2 separate regions of the Homo sapiens genome follow, and region 2 is linked to region 1. The links are contacts of gene promoters, found by promoter capture Hi-C in blood cells and fetal thymus (Javierre and others, 2016). All regions are on one chromosome and are shown on one strand. Each heading gives the region's core, a stretch centred on a gene start or on the middle of the fragment in contact. The rest is flanking DNA. Distances are from core to core; before and after follow the strand shown. Region 1 holds the start of CFAP20DC-AS1 (CFAP20DC antisense RNA 1). Region 2 holds the start of LOC105377113 (a long non-coding RNA gene).

Region 1 (4,746 bases), core at 933-3,432:
TTCCTTGTTTACGGATGAGTTTAGGTCCTTTGCAGGGACATGGATGAAGCCGGAAACCATCATTCTCAGCAAACTAATACAGGAACAGAAAACCAAACACTGCATATTCTCACTCATAAGTGAGAGTTGAACAGTGAGAACACATGGACACAGGGAGGGAAACATCACACAGCAGTGCCCGTCGGAGTGTAGGGGGCTAGGGGAGGGATAGATAGCATTAGGAGAAATACCTAATGTAGATGACGGGTTGATGGGTGCAGCAAACCACCATGACACATGTGTACCTATGTAACAAACCTACACATTCTGCCCATGTATCCCAAAACTTAAAGTATAATTTTTAAAAATTCATTTTTTACTCTAAAATAATTTTCGTCAAGATTCCAAAATAAACATCAGCTTTGCTTTGCTTAAATAAATCCTGAGTGATGCATGTAATATTTTCAATTCAAGATTTGATAAATGGATATTAAATATACACCCAAAGGAAAATCTCCTTCTGAGCAGGGCCTGATTGCAAATAGGAAGAAAAAGATGTAGTCCGGTCCCATTCAGTTTAGCATTTTTACCTGACGACTTCACACACATTGCAGTCTGAAGCCAGAAAGCCTACGCAGAGTAAAATGAAGAGTCTTTAGCAAAATCCTTTGTGTTTAACACAAACTTTGATTCCTCAGCATCTGTACAGTTCAGAGTAATATGTACTGTTTAAAAGGTGTTTAGATATAACAAATTAGTCATTTAAAAGTGTAATTAAATGTAACCACATTCCTCATAGCAAATTGGCTTTTGTAGGCATCTCTTGCTAAATAAATCAAGCCTACTGAGAAATCCATTGGCCTTTGACAGACAAATTTTTCAAAGTTTCTAACTTAGAACCAAATTCAATTAAAACAATACTTTACAACTTCTGTGGAAACCAGGCTACAATCAATCAATTTTGGAGAGTTTCTGTTAGGAGTAGCCCTCGTGAGATTTATTCAAAAACTGGGCTCTCGGCAGCCTTTGGAAGGGCACTAGGAGTTAGTTATAATGAATTTTAAGTGAATTTTATCTTGGTGAGGGATTTTGATTGACAATAGCATAAAGCCATGTTGTGTGTGTGTGTGTGTGTTTTCTTTTTTTAAGGAACAGGAACAGCTATCAATGGACACTGCTTCATGGGATGCCCAAACAAATATAAACTCTAGATCAGTCAACCTGGGCTCAAATTCCAGCTCTGCCATTTATGGACATGATCATCTTTGAAATGGAAATAATAAAAGAACCTTCCTAATATTGGCATTATGCAAATCGAATGAGTACATGAAATGCATGTGCCTGGTGCTTAGCAGAGTAAGCTCACACTGACTGTCAACTGCTGTTTCCCCAAGGTTATTCTCCTCAAAGGGCCACTTGAGTGATCAGAACAGAATTTCTAGGACATTTTCCCTTTTTATGACGACTGAGACCTGAAAGAGTAAGCAGAGATTCTGTAGTGTTTGTTTTGATGTGAGTTTAACCATCAGCATACAGACTGACTCCCTCAGATCCTTCCAAATAAACTCCTTCATTATCTCATTATTTCAATATTTCATTTCACTGTCTCTCCTCAAATGTAGATTCAAGAAAAGTAGGTTTATTGTGCAGCTACCCTGTGAGCAGATGCCCCAAAGCTGTCATTCCTTCAGGTTAATAATTAACATAACCTGAACGGGGGCATGGTGGCACAGGTCTGTATTCCCAGCTAATTGGGAGGCTAAGGCAGGAGGATTTTAGCCCAGGAATTCAAGGCCAGTGTGGGTAACACAATGAGACCCCATCTCTTAAAAAAAAAAAAAAGAATTCCCATACCTAATATCAAGCACATAAGTCTCTTTAGCTTACAAAAAAGAAAAGAAAAGCTCATTGCATGCATCCATCAACATGGCATGTTGCAGAGCATAATATTCGGAGAATAACGAGGCAAAATACACTTAATAAAACTGCAGGCATATGGTGAGGTTCTCAGACAAGTTATTTATGGTCTTGATTAACCTTGCAACATTATCGCCATTTTCATAGGTTTTACATAACAACATAAAAATATTATCTTTACCTTTTAACATGGCAGGATTATCTTATCTCCGGTTCTTTTATTTAGCCTTCATTTCGCTCCCTCACCCCAAAATCTCTAGCAGCTTGATCATGGAAAAGCAAAGCTGCTTGTGCTCCGTGGTAGTTAATTATATATGAATACTGTTTTCCTGGCACTAGCACATAGCAACAGCGCCACCAAAAGGCCGAGGTCCTGAGTTTCTGGGATCTGTTCCATTTCTTTGCTCCACAGCATATCAGCGTTTTTGCATGATATTCCTGGTTGCTGTGTATTCAAAATATAATATATTGGCATTTCAGACTCCTTATAATTAATAGGTTTTAATTTGTTCTGATCTACAGATTCATTAACTTCTCAGCTCTCTTTGGGTAGAATGAGTTTTCTTTTAATCCTCCTGAACTAAAAAGGTATGCAGTTGATTGTGCTAAGCTGCAGATAAATCATATGAGCAGATGTTCTTATACAACTATAGAAATGATATACGAAAACTGATATTAGAGTCAGTGTAATAGTGACAATAGAGACAGTATCTGTACTGTCAGGAGGAAATATTGAAATGTGCAAGTTGTTCTGTGTTTAGTGACTATGAAAGTCACCCCAGGAAATAAACTTTTCTTATTCTCAGAGTACTGTCTATTACATTTTATGATTGTCCCAAATTTAGTAACGTGGCAAAACTGATTTTTTAAATTGTAAATACATAGTGACATGTCATGAGAATGAAAACAATGAAATTAATTTATGGTAAGGAGATAGTCATATATATTTCAAATAAATGTATTTCTTCAGGGTCACTTTTTTTTCCTGCCACAAACAGAACTGATTTTGTCATTTTGTTATTCAAAAACTTAAATAGTCACCACTCTAGATGCACTCTCGAGCTGGAATAAACACTACAGACTAGTGGTTGAGAGGGTAAGCTGTGGACTCAGACTGCCTGGGTTCACATTCTAGCTCCACTCTTTCCTGGCAGGCACGATCCTGGGTTAATACCCAGTGTCAATTTCCTCTTCTGTTGAATGTAGTTGTTCATCCTATTTATTTCATAGAATTGCTCTGAGGATCAAATAAGATCATATCTACCAAGAATTAGCATAAGTACTCAATAAATGTCAATCGCCGCTATTATGATGATGGTCGTAGTTCATTGTAGATACTGGTTGTCATCCCTTTGCATCTACTTACGATATTCTCTAGGTATGACTGAATGCCAAAATCAAAACAAATTCTATATTATTTCATTGGTGCTTTCACAGGATGCTACCTACCTAGAAATAGGTTTACTGCTACATATGTTTATAAGCATATTGTAGGGGAGGAAAAATATCTTTTTCTCACCCACCCTGGATTCATCGCCAAGGCCTCTGTTGCAACAAAAGACAGATTAGCAAAAGAAAAACATACAAATTTATTTCATGTAAGTTTTCCATGATACAGGAGTCTTTATAAGGAAATGAAGAACTGAACAAACAGTGAAACTTGAATATTTTTACTCCAGGTTTGATGAAGAGAGGAAAGTGGTGGAGAAATATGATTGGGCAAAGGAGATATGAGCTAATGGAAATAAACGAAGAAAATCAGCAAGGCTTTTGTTCAGATTCTTCTCTGTGTCCCTGTGTCTTCAGAGATAAGGATGTTCCTTTCTTCAGGGGATAGGGACGGCATCTCTCAAATGAGTATCTTATGACCTGCTCCAGGGGGTGTTCAGAAAATCCTAGCTATGTTTTATGACCAGCTGCAGGGGAGAACAGGAGAAGGTGAGAGTGACCTTCCTGCTACTGTAAATGCCATGTCCTGAACTCCATCAATATCCATTTGTAGGTGAGGATGTCTAGCCTCAGACAGCTAGTTGTTCACCTTTCTATGTGTTCGTGTCAGCAGTTTTTATTTGAAAAGTTTCCATTGGTTACTTTTTTGTTTTCTAACACTTAAAAATCACTATGAGCAAAGATGGAAAGGGATCAGTCTGTATAGTCTTTTTTTTTTTTATTATACTTTAAGTTTTAGGGTACATGTGCACATTGTGCAGGTTAGTTACATATGTATACATGTGCCATGCTGGTGCACTACACCCACTAACACGTCATCTAGCATTAGGTATATCTCCTGATGCTATCCCTTCCCCCTCCCACCACCCCACAACAGTCCCCAGAGTGTGATATTCCCCTTCCTGTGTCCATGTGATCTCATTGTTCAGTTCCCACCTATGAGTGAGAATATGCGGTGTTTGGTTTTTTTTGTTTGTTTGTTTGTTTGTTTGTTTTTTCATGATTTTTTTTTATTATACTTTAAGTTTTACGGTACATGTGCACATTGTGCAGGTTAGTTACATATGTATACATGTGCCATGCTGATGTGCTGCACCCACTAACTCCTCATCTAGCATTAGGTATATCTCCCAATGCTATCCTTCCCCCCTCCCCCCACCCCACAACAGTCCCCAGAGTATGATATTCCCCTTCCTGTGTCCATGTGATCTCATTGTTCAATTCCCACCTATGAGTGAGAATATGCGGTGTTTGGTTTTTTGTTCTTGCGATAGTTTACTGAGAATGATGATTTCCAATTTCATCCATGTCCCTACAAAGGACATGAACTCTTCATTTTTTATGGCTGCATAGTATTCCATGGTGTATATGTGCCACATTTTCTTAATCCAGTCTATCATT
Region 2 (4,368 bases), core at 1,078-3,577, 1.0 Mb before region 1:
GGATATGAGTTTTGGAAAGGCAAACCAAAGTCTTTTTAGTAATCAGGTCTGTAGTTATGTGAGGTAGAGAGCTTCCTGTCAGTGGAAGGATTCCAACAGAGCCCATTTTCTCCTTCCAGGGATGTGCCGTTGGATAAAGAGACTTAGCTGCATGAGCTTCTTAGCCTCCTATTAATACCAAAGGCCTCAGGGCAGTCTGGCTCCTCTCTCTCTGCTCACTTAATGAGAAAGTTATTTAGAGAGGGAGCCTAGTATGGCAATAATATGGGCTCTAGAGTTTCCTGGACCTCGGTTCAAATCCCAGATCTACCAATTACCAGCTTTGTGCCTGTGAAAAACAATTCTATTCCCCAGACCTCAGTTTTTTCATCTGTAAAAATCACAAAATTGTGAGGATTAAATAAAATAAGCTCTGGATTCTGCCCTGCACTGTGCTTGGACTAGAGAGTGCTCTGCGGTGTGAGAGAGAGGGAAATGAGATTTGCTAAATATGTGATGCCAGCACCTGGATTCCCTAAGACAATGAGTTCTGACACTTCACGAGGTAGAATAATGACCTAAGTGATGATTGGGATGCTCATTGGAAAGTCAGATGGGAAACTTGACCTCTTTGCCTTCCTGTCCCTGTTTTTTTGCACATGCGACGTAAGCACAATACCGAGCTTCAATTATTTATCAGACGTATTTGTGTTCAGTGACACGTGTGGCAGATATAAATCTGTGGGTTCTTCCCCCTGGAATGCTTCCGGGCGAGTTATACAGCAGGGACCCTTTAAAGCATCAGCGTTGAAGAGCAGAGATTGATTTCCTTCCCAGCCTTTTTCTTTCATGCACCTTAGGCTTCTGGGGATTTCCTTGCAGTGCAGGGCTAACGACTTTTGATACCAATCAATGCAAAGCTAATTAATTTACTTCACAATTTTCATGTACTCGAAGTACCCAATGGTTCAAATGATTTGTTGTTGTTTTTTGTTTGTTTTTGTTTTTTTTAGAAGTCTGTTCTTTGTCTTATTTTTATTTTTTACACGTGGACTAATTAGCTCCTGATGACTTTATCTATTGGTGGGATTCTAATTGTAGCAGGAGTGTGGATTGCAACGAAGGAGCACTGAGATTCCATGACTTCCATGCTTTTTAACTGCTAAGTCTTCATGACAGGAACTCTAGACTCTCAATAAGTATAATTTTATTTTGATAGTTTATGGAAATTAGCTAGCTAATTTTAACTGTCTCTGGGAAGTTCCAACATGGCATGAGATGGAAAGTGTCTATGTGTGTGTCCCCATATCTCTGTGTCTGCATATGTGTCTGTCACACACACACATGCACACCCACAATAGAATATGATGAAAATAAAAATTTGTGGAAATTATTCTCAATCTGGAAACTATAAATTCTTCACTTCTTAATTTAAAACATCATCCTTTCATGGTGATATTAAAGAATTAGTTCATTTAGATAAGCTTCCAGTTTCATATTTTGAAGTATTTAGTGGATATTTTATTGACTGAAGATTACACTTAGTTTTCATGTTGGTATAATTTAAATATATTATTCATAGGACTTGCAAATCACATAATACAACTGAGAAAACAAGATGTACCTCAATGATAGAAAGTATAGGCTATGAAATTCACCAAACTTGAGTTTGAATCTTGGCTCTAGCTTACAATGGCCAGTTTGAAATATCTACATTCTTTGAGTTTCAGCTTCTTGAACTGTAAAATGAAGATCATAATAGCCTATGTGGATATTTCAAAAATGAGTGTTCAAACAGTGAGATACCACCACACACTTATTAGAAGAGCCCAAATCAGAACACTGACAATGCCAAATGCTAGAGAGGATGTGAAGCAACAGGAACTCTCATTCATTTCTGTTGGGAATGCAACATATTACAGCCTCTTTGGAATACAGTTTGGCGATTTCTTACAAAACTACATGCTCTTACAACATGATCCAGCAGTTGTATTCCTTGATATTTACTCAAAGGAGTTGAAAACATAGCCACACAAAAATCTACACATGAATGTTCATAGCAGTCTTATCCTTAATTGCCAAAACATGGAAGCCACCAAGAAATTCTTCAGTGGGTGAATGGATAAATACACTGTGGTACATCCCAACAAGGGTTTCTGATTCAGTGCCAAAAACAAATTAGCTATCAATCCATGAAGAGACATGGCGGAAACTTAAATGTATATTACTAAGTGAAAGAAGCCTACCTAAAGAGGCTGCATGCTCCATGATTCTGACTATATGGAATTCTGGAAAAGGCAAAATTATGGAGATAATAAAAAGATCAGTGGTTGCCAAGGATTAGGAGGGAGGGAGGGATGAATAGGCGGATCACAGAGGATCTTTTAGGACAATGAAACTACTCTATATGATACTGTAATGGTGGATACATGCCATTATACATTTACCCAAACCCATAGAATGTACAACACCAAGACTGAATCCTCTTGTAAACTATGGACTTTGGGTGATATGTCCTTGTAGGTTCACAAATTGTAACAAATGTACCAGTCTGGTGGGGGGAAGTTAATATGGGAGGCAACATATGTGGGGCAGGGGATATGTGGGCTATCTCCGTACCTTACTATCAGTTTTGCTGTAAACCTAAAACTTCTCTAAATATAAAGTCTTTACTGTTTTAAAATGAGTATTCATGTAAAAGGTGTGGCGCATTTCTTGGTATATAGTATGTGTGATATAAACACCACCCGCTTGTCGATGGGGGTAATATTACTGTTTGGTAATTCGTTCTCTTGCTCTACTCTCTACCCGAAGAACAAAGCACCACCCAAGAGTTTAAAAATTAAAGAGCTTACACTGAAGGCCTCCAGCTAGTTTACCTAAGGAGATGGAATGTGGCTGGGTGGAGAGCCATATGCTGGAGAACAGAACTCCACCATACCTTGAATGATTATATGTGATTTTCAGAACTACTCAATGTAACAGTTTAATTAAAATATCCAGGAAGAACTAATATCCCCCGACTGGGTGAATCTTATCTCTACTAAACTGAGACTCAAGGAATGTGTTTTAGAGCAAGATGAAAGGGTAAATTACAATCAGTTCTACAGGTATGTGTGACTACTCTTTTTCTCTTAATTGGGACCTTCTTACTAGTTTGTTTTAAAAAGACTGCAAAGTCGTGTCTGATTTTCATGTTGTCAGAAGCTTGTAGGAGCTTTAATCTTGCAGTTTAAAAATAACACCTCCAAGAAGAAACTAACATAATAATGCATGTAGCATCACTGGGGATCAAGGTAAATTCTAGTGGGAATGGCAACTTGTGATAGTGATATTCTGTAGTTTTGGGCAAGACCCTCTTGTCTCTTGAGAACACGAATGAATGTAATAAGCCTGACTGAGGGGTGAAATGAGCTTTGCAACAATGACTAAGAACAAAGCTAAGTATTACATAGGTTGGGTGTGTATCAAGTGATAATTGAATGGGCTTGGAGTTGGCTAAACCTGGGTTTGAAGCTCAAGTCTACCACTCCATTAGCTGTTTAACTTAAGACAAGTTACTTAGTTTTTCACACTTTGCCTTCTTCTCTGTTAAATTGAGATAAACATAGGTCCCTTGCATGGGAGTTGTAAGGATCAAGTACAATAATGGATATGAAATACTTAGCATAGGTCTGGCACATAAGAAATGCTCTGCATATTTCTAATCTTAACATTTTCTATTAAATATTACATTTTACCTGACATTTAACCAGTAGCTAATGAGCCATAAAAGTTCTAGTTAGTTAATAATTAATGAGCTCTGATCGTTTTTGAGCTATGAGGATTACACCACTCTACTACCACCATCTTCATCAACTTTAGATTCCTCATATGAGACCATCAGCTGACTGTCTGGAACTCAGCCAGATTGACCTTGTTAGAAGATCCAGGAGGAGCCATTGAGTCCTGGATCAGAATATCACAGCTTCATCATCAGTGTCCAAATCCAAAATAGAGAAGACCCTGCTCTTTTCATTGATTTTTGTTTACCAACCCCTTGTGAACAATGAAACTGGAAGACTATTAGAAGTAGAAAGTATTGGCCATAATCCAGGTTATTCCCTCGAAGGGGAGCTTTGGTGACATCAGAATGGATTAGAACATACAATCAGGCTTTTAGGTTGCCAGGATCACCACCTCTACCTCCCCTTGCACAGTAGTATTCTTTTTGTTGCCTTACCAACACATTTACAAATGCAGAAAGACTCTTGCTTTTGTGGCAAGTCACACCCACAAGGTGCCTTTTCTCAGACATGTGTGAGTCCTTCAGTCATTGTTCCCAGTGTCAGTGTTGAGTGCAGGAGCTGAGAAGAGAGGTGACTCATTTTTAATTGATATCTTAAATAA

Evidence for each region. Contacts are between HindIII fragments. The CHiCAGO score rates a contact against its expected background, and 5 or more counts as called.
Region 2: a fragment that was not itself captured here is called in contact with the fragment with the promoter of CFAP20DC-AS1 in region 1 in 1 of 17 cell types (endothelial precursors); the score reaches 5.0 in endothelial precursors.

Annotation. Positions count from the first base shown.
Region 1 is chr3:58,821,907-58,826,652 of GRCh38, reverse strand. It overlaps CFAP20DC-AS1 (CFAP20DC antisense RNA 1), which reads right to left and starts at 2,182. Exons shown (of 3, transcript NR_110820.1): 1 at 2,078-2,182. The region is part of intron 14 of CFAP20DC (CFAP20 domain containing); the gene reads left to right. The HindIII fragment of the contact is 7,858 bases long and covers 1-4,746 here.
Region 2 is chr3:59,850,649-59,855,016 of GRCh38, reverse strand. The region is part of intron 8 of FHIT (fragile histidine triad diadenosine triphosphatase); the gene reads left to right. It overlaps LOC105377113 (a long non-coding RNA gene), which reads right to left and starts at 3,983. Exons shown (of 3, transcript XR_007095936.1): 1 at 3,895-3,983. The HindIII fragment of the contact is 1,723 bases long and covers 1,466-3,188 here.